Linked DNA regions of Homo sapiens: regions 2 and 3 are each linked to region 1. Evidence: promoter capture Hi-C in 16 types of primary human blood cells and fetal thymus (Javierre and others, 2016). All regions are on one chromosome and are shown on one strand. The core of a region is centred on a gene start or on the middle of the fragment in contact, and the rest is flanking DNA. Distances in the headings are between cores, read along the strand shown. Region 1 holds the start of OTUD5 (OTU deubiquitinase 5). Region 2 holds the start of SYP-AS1 (SYP antisense RNA 1). Region 3 overlaps SUV39H1 (SUV39H1 histone lysine methyltransferase).

What was found. The method cuts DNA at HindIII sites, captures the fragments that hold promoters and counts their contacts. A CHiCAGO score of 5 or more calls a contact.
Region 2: the fragment with the promoter of SYP-AS1 here is called in contact with the fragment with the promoter of OTUD5 in region 1 in 7 of 17 cell types (naive CD4 T cells, non-activated CD4 T cells, monocytes and 4 more); the score reaches 7.9 in naive CD4 T cells.
Region 3: a fragment that was not itself captured here is called in contact with the fragment with the promoter of OTUD5 in region 1 in 1 of 17 cell types (non-activated CD4 T cells); the score reaches 5.6 in non-activated CD4 T cells.

The regions. Positions count from the first base shown.
Region 1 is chrX:48,955,423-48,958,868 of GRCh38, reverse strand. It overlaps OTUD5 (OTU deubiquitinase 5), which reads left to right and starts at 1,262. Exons shown (of 9, transcript NM_001136157.2): 1 at 1,262-1,892. The coding sequence starts at 1,299. RefSeq lists an enhancer at 516-705 and silencers at 806-965, 1,166-1,215, 1,586-1,645. The HindIII fragment of the contact is 4,109 bases long and covers 1-2,587 here.
Region 2 is chrX:49,197,086-49,200,359 of GRCh38, reverse strand. It overlaps SYP-AS1 (SYP antisense RNA 1), which reads right to left and starts at 1,521. Exons shown (of 2, transcript NR_046649.1): 1 at 1,136-1,521. SYP (synaptophysin) reads left to right here and starts at 167. Exons shown (of 7, transcript NM_003179.3): 1 at 167-209; 2 at 1,327-1,392; 3 at 2,521-2,645. The coding sequence starts at 174. RefSeq lists silencers at 1-214, 285-334. The HindIII fragment of the contact is 12,908 bases long and covers 1-3,274 here.
Region 3 is chrX:48,700,404-48,703,941 of GRCh38, reverse strand. It overlaps SUV39H1 (SUV39H1 histone lysine methyltransferase), which reads right to left. Exons shown (of 6, transcript NM_003173.4): 3 at 3,189-3,538. Among named protein-coding and RNA genes, the nearest start is that of SUV39H1, 5.4 kb to the right of the region's middle. The HindIII fragment of the contact is 3,918 bases long and covers 1-3,538 here.

The DNA.
Region 1 (3,446 bases), core at 13-2,512:
GCAACATAGTGAGACTTTGTCCCTACAAAAAAGTGAAAAAAAAATTAGCCGGTCGTAGTGGTGCGCGCCTGTGGTCCCAGCTATTCGGGAGGCTGAGGCGGGAGGATCGCTTGAACCTGGGAGTTGGAGTTTGCAGTGAGCTATGATCGCGCCACTGCATTCCAACCTGGGCGACAGAGTGAGACCCCTGTCTCAATTAGGAAAAAAAAAAAAAAAAAAAAAAAAAAAGGCTGGGCCGCGCCTGCGCACTAGCCATAGGGGCGGGGAGGTCAACGCGAGGCCGAGAGTGCTGTGGTGCCAGAGAAGGCGTGTCTGTTTCCCAAACAACCACTGTCCCCACGGCGCCTGTCTGTCCCAAGGTTGGTCGGTATGCCGCGAGTGACGGCGTCTCTTAACCAATCACCGCAGAACTCAGGCTGTTGCCGGGGCGAAGCGGTGTCCGCCTCCCCCGGAAGGGTATTTGTAGGTGGGTGGGACCGGAAGTGACGCTACAGGGGCCAGCTATGCTCCCGGGAGTGTTGATGTTTTCCAGTCATTCCGGCTGACAGCGTTCAAGTTGGAATCCTGGAGGGGAGGTGTTTTTCCTGTCGTACGTGGGACAGGCCACGCTGTCCGTCCGCAGTACCGACGCCTGCAGGTCAGAGCTTCGGGGAGAAAAGTGAAGAGCAAGACGGAACTGACGGGGAGAAAGGCTGGGAACCAGGGTGTCGACTTTGACTGAAATTTGAGACGGAGGGCACCGGAGGGCGAGCACTCGCCTGTGATTGGCCCGTGGGCGTCGTCGAGGTCCCACGCAGCTGCTCAATTGGTTGGTGTTGCAATTGTTGTGGCGGCGGCGGCGGCGATTTTGCCCACGTACTTCCGAGTAAGGGGCGGGGCTGTGCCCTGGCGCGCGTGCGCAGCGCCCCGGGGCCCCACCCGGTAGTGCAAGAACCTGCGAGGGGGCGGAGCGAAGAGGTGCTTGTTTTGGTTCTGTTTCCTTTGAAGCAGAAGGCCGGAACAAGCGTAGCAATAAACTTGCTGGACTTGGAGAGAAGGCTAAGACAAACTCGCCGCACTGCCTTCATCTTGGACTTTACATCCGGGTTCTCCTCTCGGCGTGACCCGCGCGCCGCCACCGCCGCCGCCGCCGCCGCCGCCTCCTCCGCCGCCGAGGGTTCTCGAACCGGTGCCGCGATCCCTTTATCCGGGTCTCGCCGTTCCCGTCGTGCCTCGCGCACTACACTAGCCCCCTCATCCGGGTTCTCTCCCGGCGTGCCCCGCGCCGGGTTTGTTGGGGGGTACTCGGCAGTGCAGCCATGACTATACTCCCCAAAAAGAAGCCGCCGCCTCCCGACGCCGACCCCGCCAACGAGCCGCCGCCGCCCGGGCCGATGCCCCCGGCGCCGCGGCGCGGCGGAGGTGTGGGCGTGGGCGGCGGCGGCACGGGCGTGGGCGGCGGCGATCGCGACCGTGACTCCGGCGTCGTGGGGGCCCGTCCGCGAGCTTCGCCACCGCCTCAAGGCCCGCTACCAGGACCGCCGGGCGCTCTTCATCGCTGGGCGCTGGCCGTGCCGCCTGGTGCAGTGGCGGGTCCCCGGCCACAACAGGCTTCTCCACCTCCTTGCGGGGGCCCAGGTGGTCCCGGCGGCGGTCCCGGCGACGCGCTGGGCGCAGCGGCGGCGGGTGTGGGTGCCGCGGGCGTGGTGGTGGGTGTGGGTGGTGCCGTAGGCGTGGGCGGCTGCTGCTCCGGGCCTGGGCACAGCAAGCGGCGACGTCAAGCTCCCGGGGTTGGCGCGGTTGGCGGGGGCAGTCCCGAGCGTGAGGAGGTCGGCGCAGGCTACAACAGTGAGGACGAGTATGAGGCGGCTGCAGCACGCATCGAGGCTATGGACCCTGCCACTGTCGAGCAGGTAAGAGCTGTGGGGTGAGGGGTGAGCGGCCACGGCAGATGGGACCCCCAGACTGTGAAGGGACTCAAGGAAGGCTGTTTGAGATCGCCCCAAGGGATCTAGGCGTTTTCACTGGGCCTGACAGTCTTCTCTGGCGGTAGGGATGTGAGACACCTTCTTTCCTCCCCTCCAGGATTTTGGGGCTAGAGGCCTACGGTAAGGTGTCAGACTTAAAGATCCGAGGTCTCTTTTAAGGTCTATAGTCGTCATTCCAGTCCCTGGGACCTCATCATATAGGGCCAATAGGTGGGAATTCTCCAAGAGATACAGGTAGGATCGCGCCCCTCTTGAGTAGGAGTCTCAGGTCTCCCAAGAGACTTAGGTATGTGTTCAGTGGCTTAAGAGCTCTTTTCCTCTGGGATAGAAGTTTGAGATTCCCCTTCCAGGAAAGTCAAATAAGGTGGAGACCTCGGAGATCGGGGCTGAACATCCCCAAGGAGCCTAAGCCCTTTCAAGAGTCTGAGACACTCTGCATATAGGACAATCCTCTCCCGCTTCGCTGGGTAACACTGCACAGGACCACTGAATAGCCAGACCTGAGACCTCAAGGGTCCTAAGTCTGTCTTCAGGGGCCTGAGAGTCCTGCTTCTAGAATCAAGGTCCTGACACACACACACACACACACGCCCCCTTTAAGGATAGGGATCTTCTAAGCTTTTTCCAGGGATGTAAGACTTTTCACAGGGAGATATGATTCCCTTGCCCTTGGGGACAGGGACCAAAACCAACACCCAATGACCAGCAGCTTTACTTATCTCCTTTCTGAGTGACAAAGGTCTGCATTTCCTATCAGTGGCCTGAGACCTACCTCTTGGGAGACAAGGGCCTGAACCGCTTCAGGATCTTAAGCTTCTTGTAAGAAGAGATGGGCCCTCAGCACCCCCACCAGGGGCCTGAACCTTTCTTCAGGAAAATGAGACTCACAGCGTTGGATCCTAGGGCCTAAGATCCACCTGCTTATGGACTGAGGTTTTTAGAGACCGAGTCTGAGGCCTCTTCAGGGGCCTGGTGTCCTGCTGCAAAGGTCTCAGACAAGGTGAAGTCTTTAGGAGATCCTTCTTCTCAAGGCTGGTGTCTGAGTGGTTTTGGGGATCTGAGACTCCCCACCCCACGAGCATATGTGACCCTTTTACCCCAATTATAAGGAACTGAAACATACCTTGGGGATACAGTATCCCATTTTCCCCTCTGTAACAGGGGTTTGAGGCCCTCCCACCTTGGGCCTAAGCTTTTTGTCAGGGACATACGACCCATGCCTTGGGAACTTGAGCCTGAGACGACTACTCAGGGGACATGGGCAACATGGGATCCCAGAGATGATGTCTGGGGCCTCCCTACAGATCTTTGCCTACTTTTAAGGGCCTGAGACCCACTCTGCCAAGGACACTTGAGCTTTCCTTCAGGGACAGGAGACTCATACATACCTTGGTGACTTGTGTGTCTAGAGGTAAGGTCTGAGCTTCCTCCTCAAGGAACTTAAGATGTACACCTGAGAAACAGGAGGACTCCTCCCCC
Region 2 (3,274 bases), core at 272-2,771, 240 kb before region 1:
ATGGCTGCCGGTGAGACTGTGGTACAACCCGCTGTGCGCAGGCGCGTGGCGGGCAAGGAGGGGGCGCGAGGGGCGGGGCTGCAGCCGCCTGGGCTGTTCCAACGAGCGCGCGCCGCCCCCGCCGCGCCCCGCGCCGCCCTTGCTAGCCGAGCCTCCCGCCCCCTGCATTGCTGATGCTGCTGCTGGCGGACATGGACGTGGTGAATCAGGTACGCGCTCCAGCACCGTGGACAGAGCCCGCCGCCGCCCGGCTGCCTAGGCCGGGTCGCTCAGGCCAGCCGACTCTGGGAGGTGGTGGCCAGGGTCTGGCAGCGGAGACCCGGTCCCCGGCGCTGGGGATGGGGGTCTGCGGCAGGTGAAGGGGAGGAAGGGGGAGGTGGAGAAAAGGAGTGCGCTCTTTGCCGCAGCGAGGGCCGTCCTCACTGCCGCAGCGGGGGCCCCCGGAGCCCCGTTTATTACTGGCGACCGCGAGGGGAGGAATAGGGGCCTGGGGGCTGGAGTGAGGGCAAGGGACAAGGGGAGGGGAGAGTGGAAGGAAGATGGGGGGTGCTGCGGATAAGCTAGGAAATAGAGCGACAGAAGGTGTGGGGGCGGGGATGGGGGAGAGGGCTGGCACCCGCCCCTCCCAAACAGAGACTGTACCCCCATAGGCGACCACCCCTTCCCCCAGAGCACACCTAGGGGACAATCCGGTTTTACTCCTTCCAAAACCCCCAGCCTCCTCACCCCCAACACATAGCGACTGAAGCCGTGTCCCAGCCCTCCCCCACCTTAATCAGTCCAGACCCTCTCCGCCATGTCTCTCGTCTTTGCCACCTCAGAAACTCACCCCCAATCAGTCCCAACCCTTCCCCATCCCCATCACCTCAAATATCTACCGCCACCGCCGTCTAACACACCTTTACCCCTGCAGACCCTTCCCCCACCTGAGCCAAACCGACTCCTGCCCCGTTATGACTCACCTTCACCATCACAACCCCCCCACCCGAATGCACCCCACTCCATCCCCATTCTCTACCCGAACCCCTTCCCCATCCGACTCGCCTTTACGTTTCAAACCTGCTCCCCCTCCTTAACTAGTCCTGACCTCATCCCCATCTCCCTCACCCCCGACTTCCTCTGCCATCTGACTCACCATCTCTTCAGACCTTCCCACCAGTCCTTGGACCCTGGGGCTCACACCATCCCCAAGGTGTCACTTTCTCCTTCTCACCCTCTCCCCGAGGTCACATGCTCCATCCCCTGGGGTCATTGATGGGCAGCCTTGCCGCTCACCTCCCTGTACCTCCAACAACCCCACCCCTTCCCCACTGTTTCTCTCCTCAGCTGGTGGCTGGGGGTCAGTTCCGGGTGGTCAAGGAGCCCCTCGGCTTTGTGAAGGTGCTGCAATGGGTGAGTGTGGTCCGGGCTGTTGGGGCAGAGTGCAGGGAGAGAGGGAGGTCATGGGGTCCAGAAGAGCAGGGGTGGAGTAGGGGCGAGTAGCCAGGGATGAGTGCGGGGGTTGTAGGGGATGGGGGAATTGGGCTCCAGGGTGAGGTTTCAGGGGTCTGAAGCCAGAAAACAGATGAGCTGTGACGTCACATAGGGCTGAGGGTACCCCCGTTGTGAAGTGGGAGACTGTGACGTCCTACCTCCTCTCTTGAAGTGAGGGAGGGGTGGGGGAGGTGGAGCCTGTAGCAGATGCTGGGTGAGAGATGCAAAGTCAGAGAAACCCAGAGACAGTGAAGGTGACAGAGAGAATGAGGGACAGGGAATGATAAAGACAGAGATGGAAATACTGAGAAAAAAAAAAGAAATATGGAGATGAGAAGAGATACAGACATAAGAGAGAAGAGACAAACAGAAACAAAGAAAAAGGAGACACAGAAAACAGATGCAAAGAGAAACAGACGCAGGGAGAGAGGCAGGAAAACAGGGTGAGGGAGAGAGAGACACAGAGAGAAAGAGACACTCAGAAAAAAGAGAAACCAACACACAGAGGCAAGAGGGAGACAGAGAGAGAACCATCCGGAGACCGAGTGAGAGACAGGACAGAGAGACAGAGACAAACAGACCAAGAAACAGAAAGACACAGACATACAGGCATACACTTACACAGACAGAGAAAAAAGAGACAAAAAGAGACATCGACAGATCAGATAGGCAGAGGCAGAGAGGATCAGAGACACAGAGAGACAAAGAGACATCTGAGAAAGACAAAGACACATAGAGAAACAGAGATACCGAGAGAAACAGAGACACAGTGAGATACACAGAGAACAACAGAGACAAACAGAGAAGAGGGAGGTCAGCATGGAAAGGCAGAGACAGAGAGAGACACAGAGAGAGAAACAGGAAGAGACAGCCATACCCTTGTAATCAGCTTGTCCTTGGTCCCGATGAGCCCTGATTAGGGGGTGGGGGTGGGGACTGCTCCATCTGCTGCTGCCTGTGCTGGGCCCCCGATCTGTCCAGAGGAGGGCACCTCCCTCCCACATGCACACAGGTTCACTGTGGCCATCCCCATCCCTGCTGCCCAAGGTCTTCGCCATCTTCGCCTTTGCCACATGCGGCAGCTACAGTGGGGAGCTCCAGCTGAGCGTGGATTGTGCCAACAAGACCGAGAGTGACCTCAGCATCGAGGTCGAGTTCGAGTACCCCTTCAGGTGTGCTCCCACCCTGGGATACCAACAGACCTGGGAGAGGAAGGGGCAGGGTGGAACCGGCCAATACCTCCCCCCGCAAGTAGCTCCTGCCCAGCTCCCACCTCGAGGCTACATCCACTGGGATCACTGAGCACCTGCCTTGTACCTGGCACTGCTCTGGACTCTAGGACTATGTGGTGAGCAAGGCAGACATAGGCTGTGGCCCTCTGGCTCTGTTCCAGCGAAGGGGTAAGGGACAGGCAATAAACAAGATACAAAAGTAAGACAGGTGTATATACATACCTTAACCCAGTAGGTACCCAATTAATGTTAGCCAATATTATTATTTAATCCCCATTCATTCATTCTATACACATTTTTGAGAACTTATTTTATATCTGGTACTACTCAAAGTGCTGGAAGCATGATAGTAACTAAAACAGACCCAACTCCCGCCAGGCACAGTGGCTCACGCCTGTAATCCCAGCACTTTGAGAGGCCGAGGTGGGCGGATCACCTGAGGTCAGGAGTTCGAGACCAGCCTGACCAACATGGAGAAACCCCGTCTCTACTAAAAATACAAAATTAGCCAGGCGTGGTCATGCATGCCTGTAATCCCGGCTACTCAGGAGGCTGAGGCAGGAGAATCA
Region 3 (3,538 bases), core at 472-2,971, 260 kb after region 1:
TTATTTGGGCCTTTATTTTTTTATCCATTGTACTACTTTTGTGATTTTAATCAAGTTATTCTACCTCTCTGGGCCTCAGTTTTCTCATCTGCAGAATGGGAATGACAGTGACAAAATCCCAACCTGACAGGGGCTGTTGTAAAGATCCATACAAGATCATGGACGTGAAAGGTGTTCCTGTTTCTGATAGGAGAGTGAGCAATGTTAGGAGTGGTTATGAGGACCAGTTATAAATGTAAGGCACACCCTTAATTTTATGTGCCCTTTACCAAGAAAGGAAAAACTGCTGTTAATTATAAATGATACACCATGATTTAATTAAGACATCTTCATTTCCGAGATGTTAAAATAGGAAGAAAATGCATGTTTTAGAATGGATAAAATAGGCTGGCATTGTCTCTTGGGTGAGGATGGGAATGTTCTGCAGGAACGTGAAAGTTCTGACCCAATGTGGGAGGCTGCAAAGGAGGGAAGGGCAGCTCCCGTGGAGGGAGCTCTTGGTACAGACTGTCAGTACATGTCCCAGCTGAAGAAGGACAGTAGATAGCATGGTGTGCAGATAGGCCCTTGATTCCGTAACACCCTGGCAGCATCTGGGACGGCACTACAGAATCAAGTAAATTAGAACTGCTGCAACGAAATGTATGACTATTACCCCAAGTAGGATAAATAAAAACTACAAATAGGACCCTATCCGGTCAGGCTGGGTCCTGTAGCCAGATGGGTTACAAAAAAACTTGGTCTTCCAGACATTTTGGATTTGCTGAAGTTTGAACTATGCTGATAACATTTGTATCAAACTTACTGTGTACTGAACACTGTTCAAGTGCTTTTTCCAAGTGCTTGATACATAGTAACTCATTTAATTTTTGTAACAAGCCTGTGAGGTGAGTGCTATTATTGTTCCCATTTTACATAGTAAATGCAGGCACAGAGGTTAGTGATTGCTGATGAGTAGTGGAGCTGGGATTCAGCCTCGGGCAGTCAGGATCCAGAGTCCACCCTCCTAACCATTTGCTATACTGTCTCTTCAGAGGGGAATGCGGGAAGATGAGTTTGGCTCTTTCCGGAGGCCTGTGGCACCATCAGGAGGACCCATGGGTCTGAGGGTGCTGGAGGGCGGTCAGGAAATAGTGCAGCAAGAATGTGTGGAGAGCAGGAAGGGTGAGGACAGGGCTGAGAGGATCCCTGGGAGGATTAAAGACACTGACACTAAGGAAGAGCAGCCAGAAAAGTCTCAGGCCCAGGAGGGTCTGAGGCTGCCCTTGGGGTGTAGTCTTCCTCCTCGACTGTCAGGACCCTGTGTGGTAGACAGTGTTTCCTCCAGATGCCAGTACAGTGAGGCTGAGATACTTCCTGCTCTGTGCAGCCCCTAGGACGGTGGACTGTCTGGGTCCTATGGGGTCTGGACATCTCCTCCAGAGAGTTTGGGTTCCTTCAACCTCTGGACACTTCCTCCAGAGCGTCAGGACATTGAGGGCATGGACACTTCCCCCGATACTGTCAGGGTGCCCTTGGGTGTAGACTAGATCTCCAGGCTGTCCGGATCCCTCTGGGGTGAGGACACTTCTTTTTCCTGTCATGACAACATGGGTGTGAACACTTCCTAAGTCAGACCACCAGGTCCTCTAGAGTGTGGAGAGCACAAGCTCTTCCTCCAGGTCACTGGGGTCACTGTGGGACATGGACTTCCTGCAGATTATCAGGACTCCTTCCCCCGCCCACTGTCAGGAGCCCTCAGGGTGTGGACACCTCCCCACCTCCTCCTTCCAGATGGCCAGGTCCTGTGGCATGTAGACATCTCCTCCAGCAGGCCAGCAGGGTTATCTGGACAGGGTGTGGCTGTCTCCTTGCCCAGACTGTCAGGGTCCTCTGTGGTGTAGATTGTTCTACCCAAGATTGTCTCTGTCCCTGTCAGATGTGACCCTCTGTACAGTTTCTCAGAGTAGGAGCCTCTCCTTGTCATCAGTATCAGTGCTACAGTGTGGACACCCTCATGTGAGTGTTCCTCAGGCCAGTTTCTGTCACTTTCCAACTATATCACACCCCTAAGGGACCTATGGCTATATATAGAGGTATCTGGGGTTGTCACTATGACAGGGCACACTCATGGATTTAAATGGTCAAGGTCCAGGGATGCTAAATGTCCCCCAATGCATGAGACAGTTCTACATAACGAAAAATCATCTCATCCCAAATGCTAACTGCATCCCATCTTAGAATGCGACATTTTTCTGTTGTAGATACTTGCTAGTTATCTAGTTGCTAGTTATGGCTGTGCTTTAGCCTTGTGCAGCTGGGCACATGGCTAAAGCACATCCTGTTGCCTCTCTTGCATGGAGGTAAGGCCAGTGACTCAGTTCCAGCCAGTGGAGCATGGGCAGAAGTGATGGGTGCTGCATCTAGGCCTGGCCCACTAGGATGGGCCCCTTCTATCCCCCACTTGGCCCGCCTGCCAGGCAATGCTGAGGATCTGGTAGTGACTCCAAGGCTTCAAGGCACAGCAAAGGCACAGGAGGGAAAGAGCCTAGGTGTCCCAGTTGCTGTGTGAAAGGATACCCACTCAAACCCCCACAATGGACTGTTCCATGAGCAAGCAAACTTGTAATGTGCAAAGTCACTAAGATGAGGGGGTTGTTTTTACAATGGCTGGCTTGCCTAATACACTCGGCCTTCCCCAGTGTCCTGAAAGTCTAAAGGAGTTAGCCAACCTTTGTCCAAGGCATGTCTCATCCTACTCCAGACTGCGTTCCTTCTGTGCAGACTGGTAAAACAATGCTCCTCAGGCAGATACTGCTTGGTGATAAGATGGGCCCTTGTGAAATGAGAAGAGGAAGTGCCTTTCCAGCTGATGCAGCCCTATGCCAGACCACATGGCCTGTTACAAGGAATGCTAAGGCTGCCTGGATCTCAGCTCCCACTTTTCTTCTTTGCTAAGTACCCTGATAAAGTCAACCCAGTGCAGAAGTATTTTGGTGTTCCTGTAACCACCAGCATGGCCATGCTGGTGTGTACCAGCTTGGAATACTAGCCCCTGCCCAATGTCCCTGTGACACTCAGATCAGTCTCCCAGGCCTTTCCCATAGGGAAAGCAGGGAGTTTCAGACACACAGTGAGGAGAGCCGGGTGCACACTGTGAACACAGGGTGGGAAGAGCTGCACACACACACCGGGTCCCATCTCCCTACCTCTCCCACGTACTCCATGACGAAGCTGTTCTTGCGAATCTTCTCCAGGGTGCGGACGCCCCAGCCACGCCCATCATCCGTGCGGAAGATGCAGAGGTCATATCGGATACCCTTCTGTACCACACGATTTGGGCAGTCATAGCCGCAGCGGCAGCGGGAGTTGCACTCGTAGATGGGCAGCCCGGCTCGAAGCCGCACCTGGCCCTGGTCATTGTAGGCAAACTTGTGCAGTGACGCCCCCGGGCAGCAGCCTCCAGTGGGTGCCCACAGACAGTCCTGGCACTCGCAGCCCACAGCCACCTGGTTGAGGGTGATGCCCTCACCAACACGGTACTCATTGATGTACACGA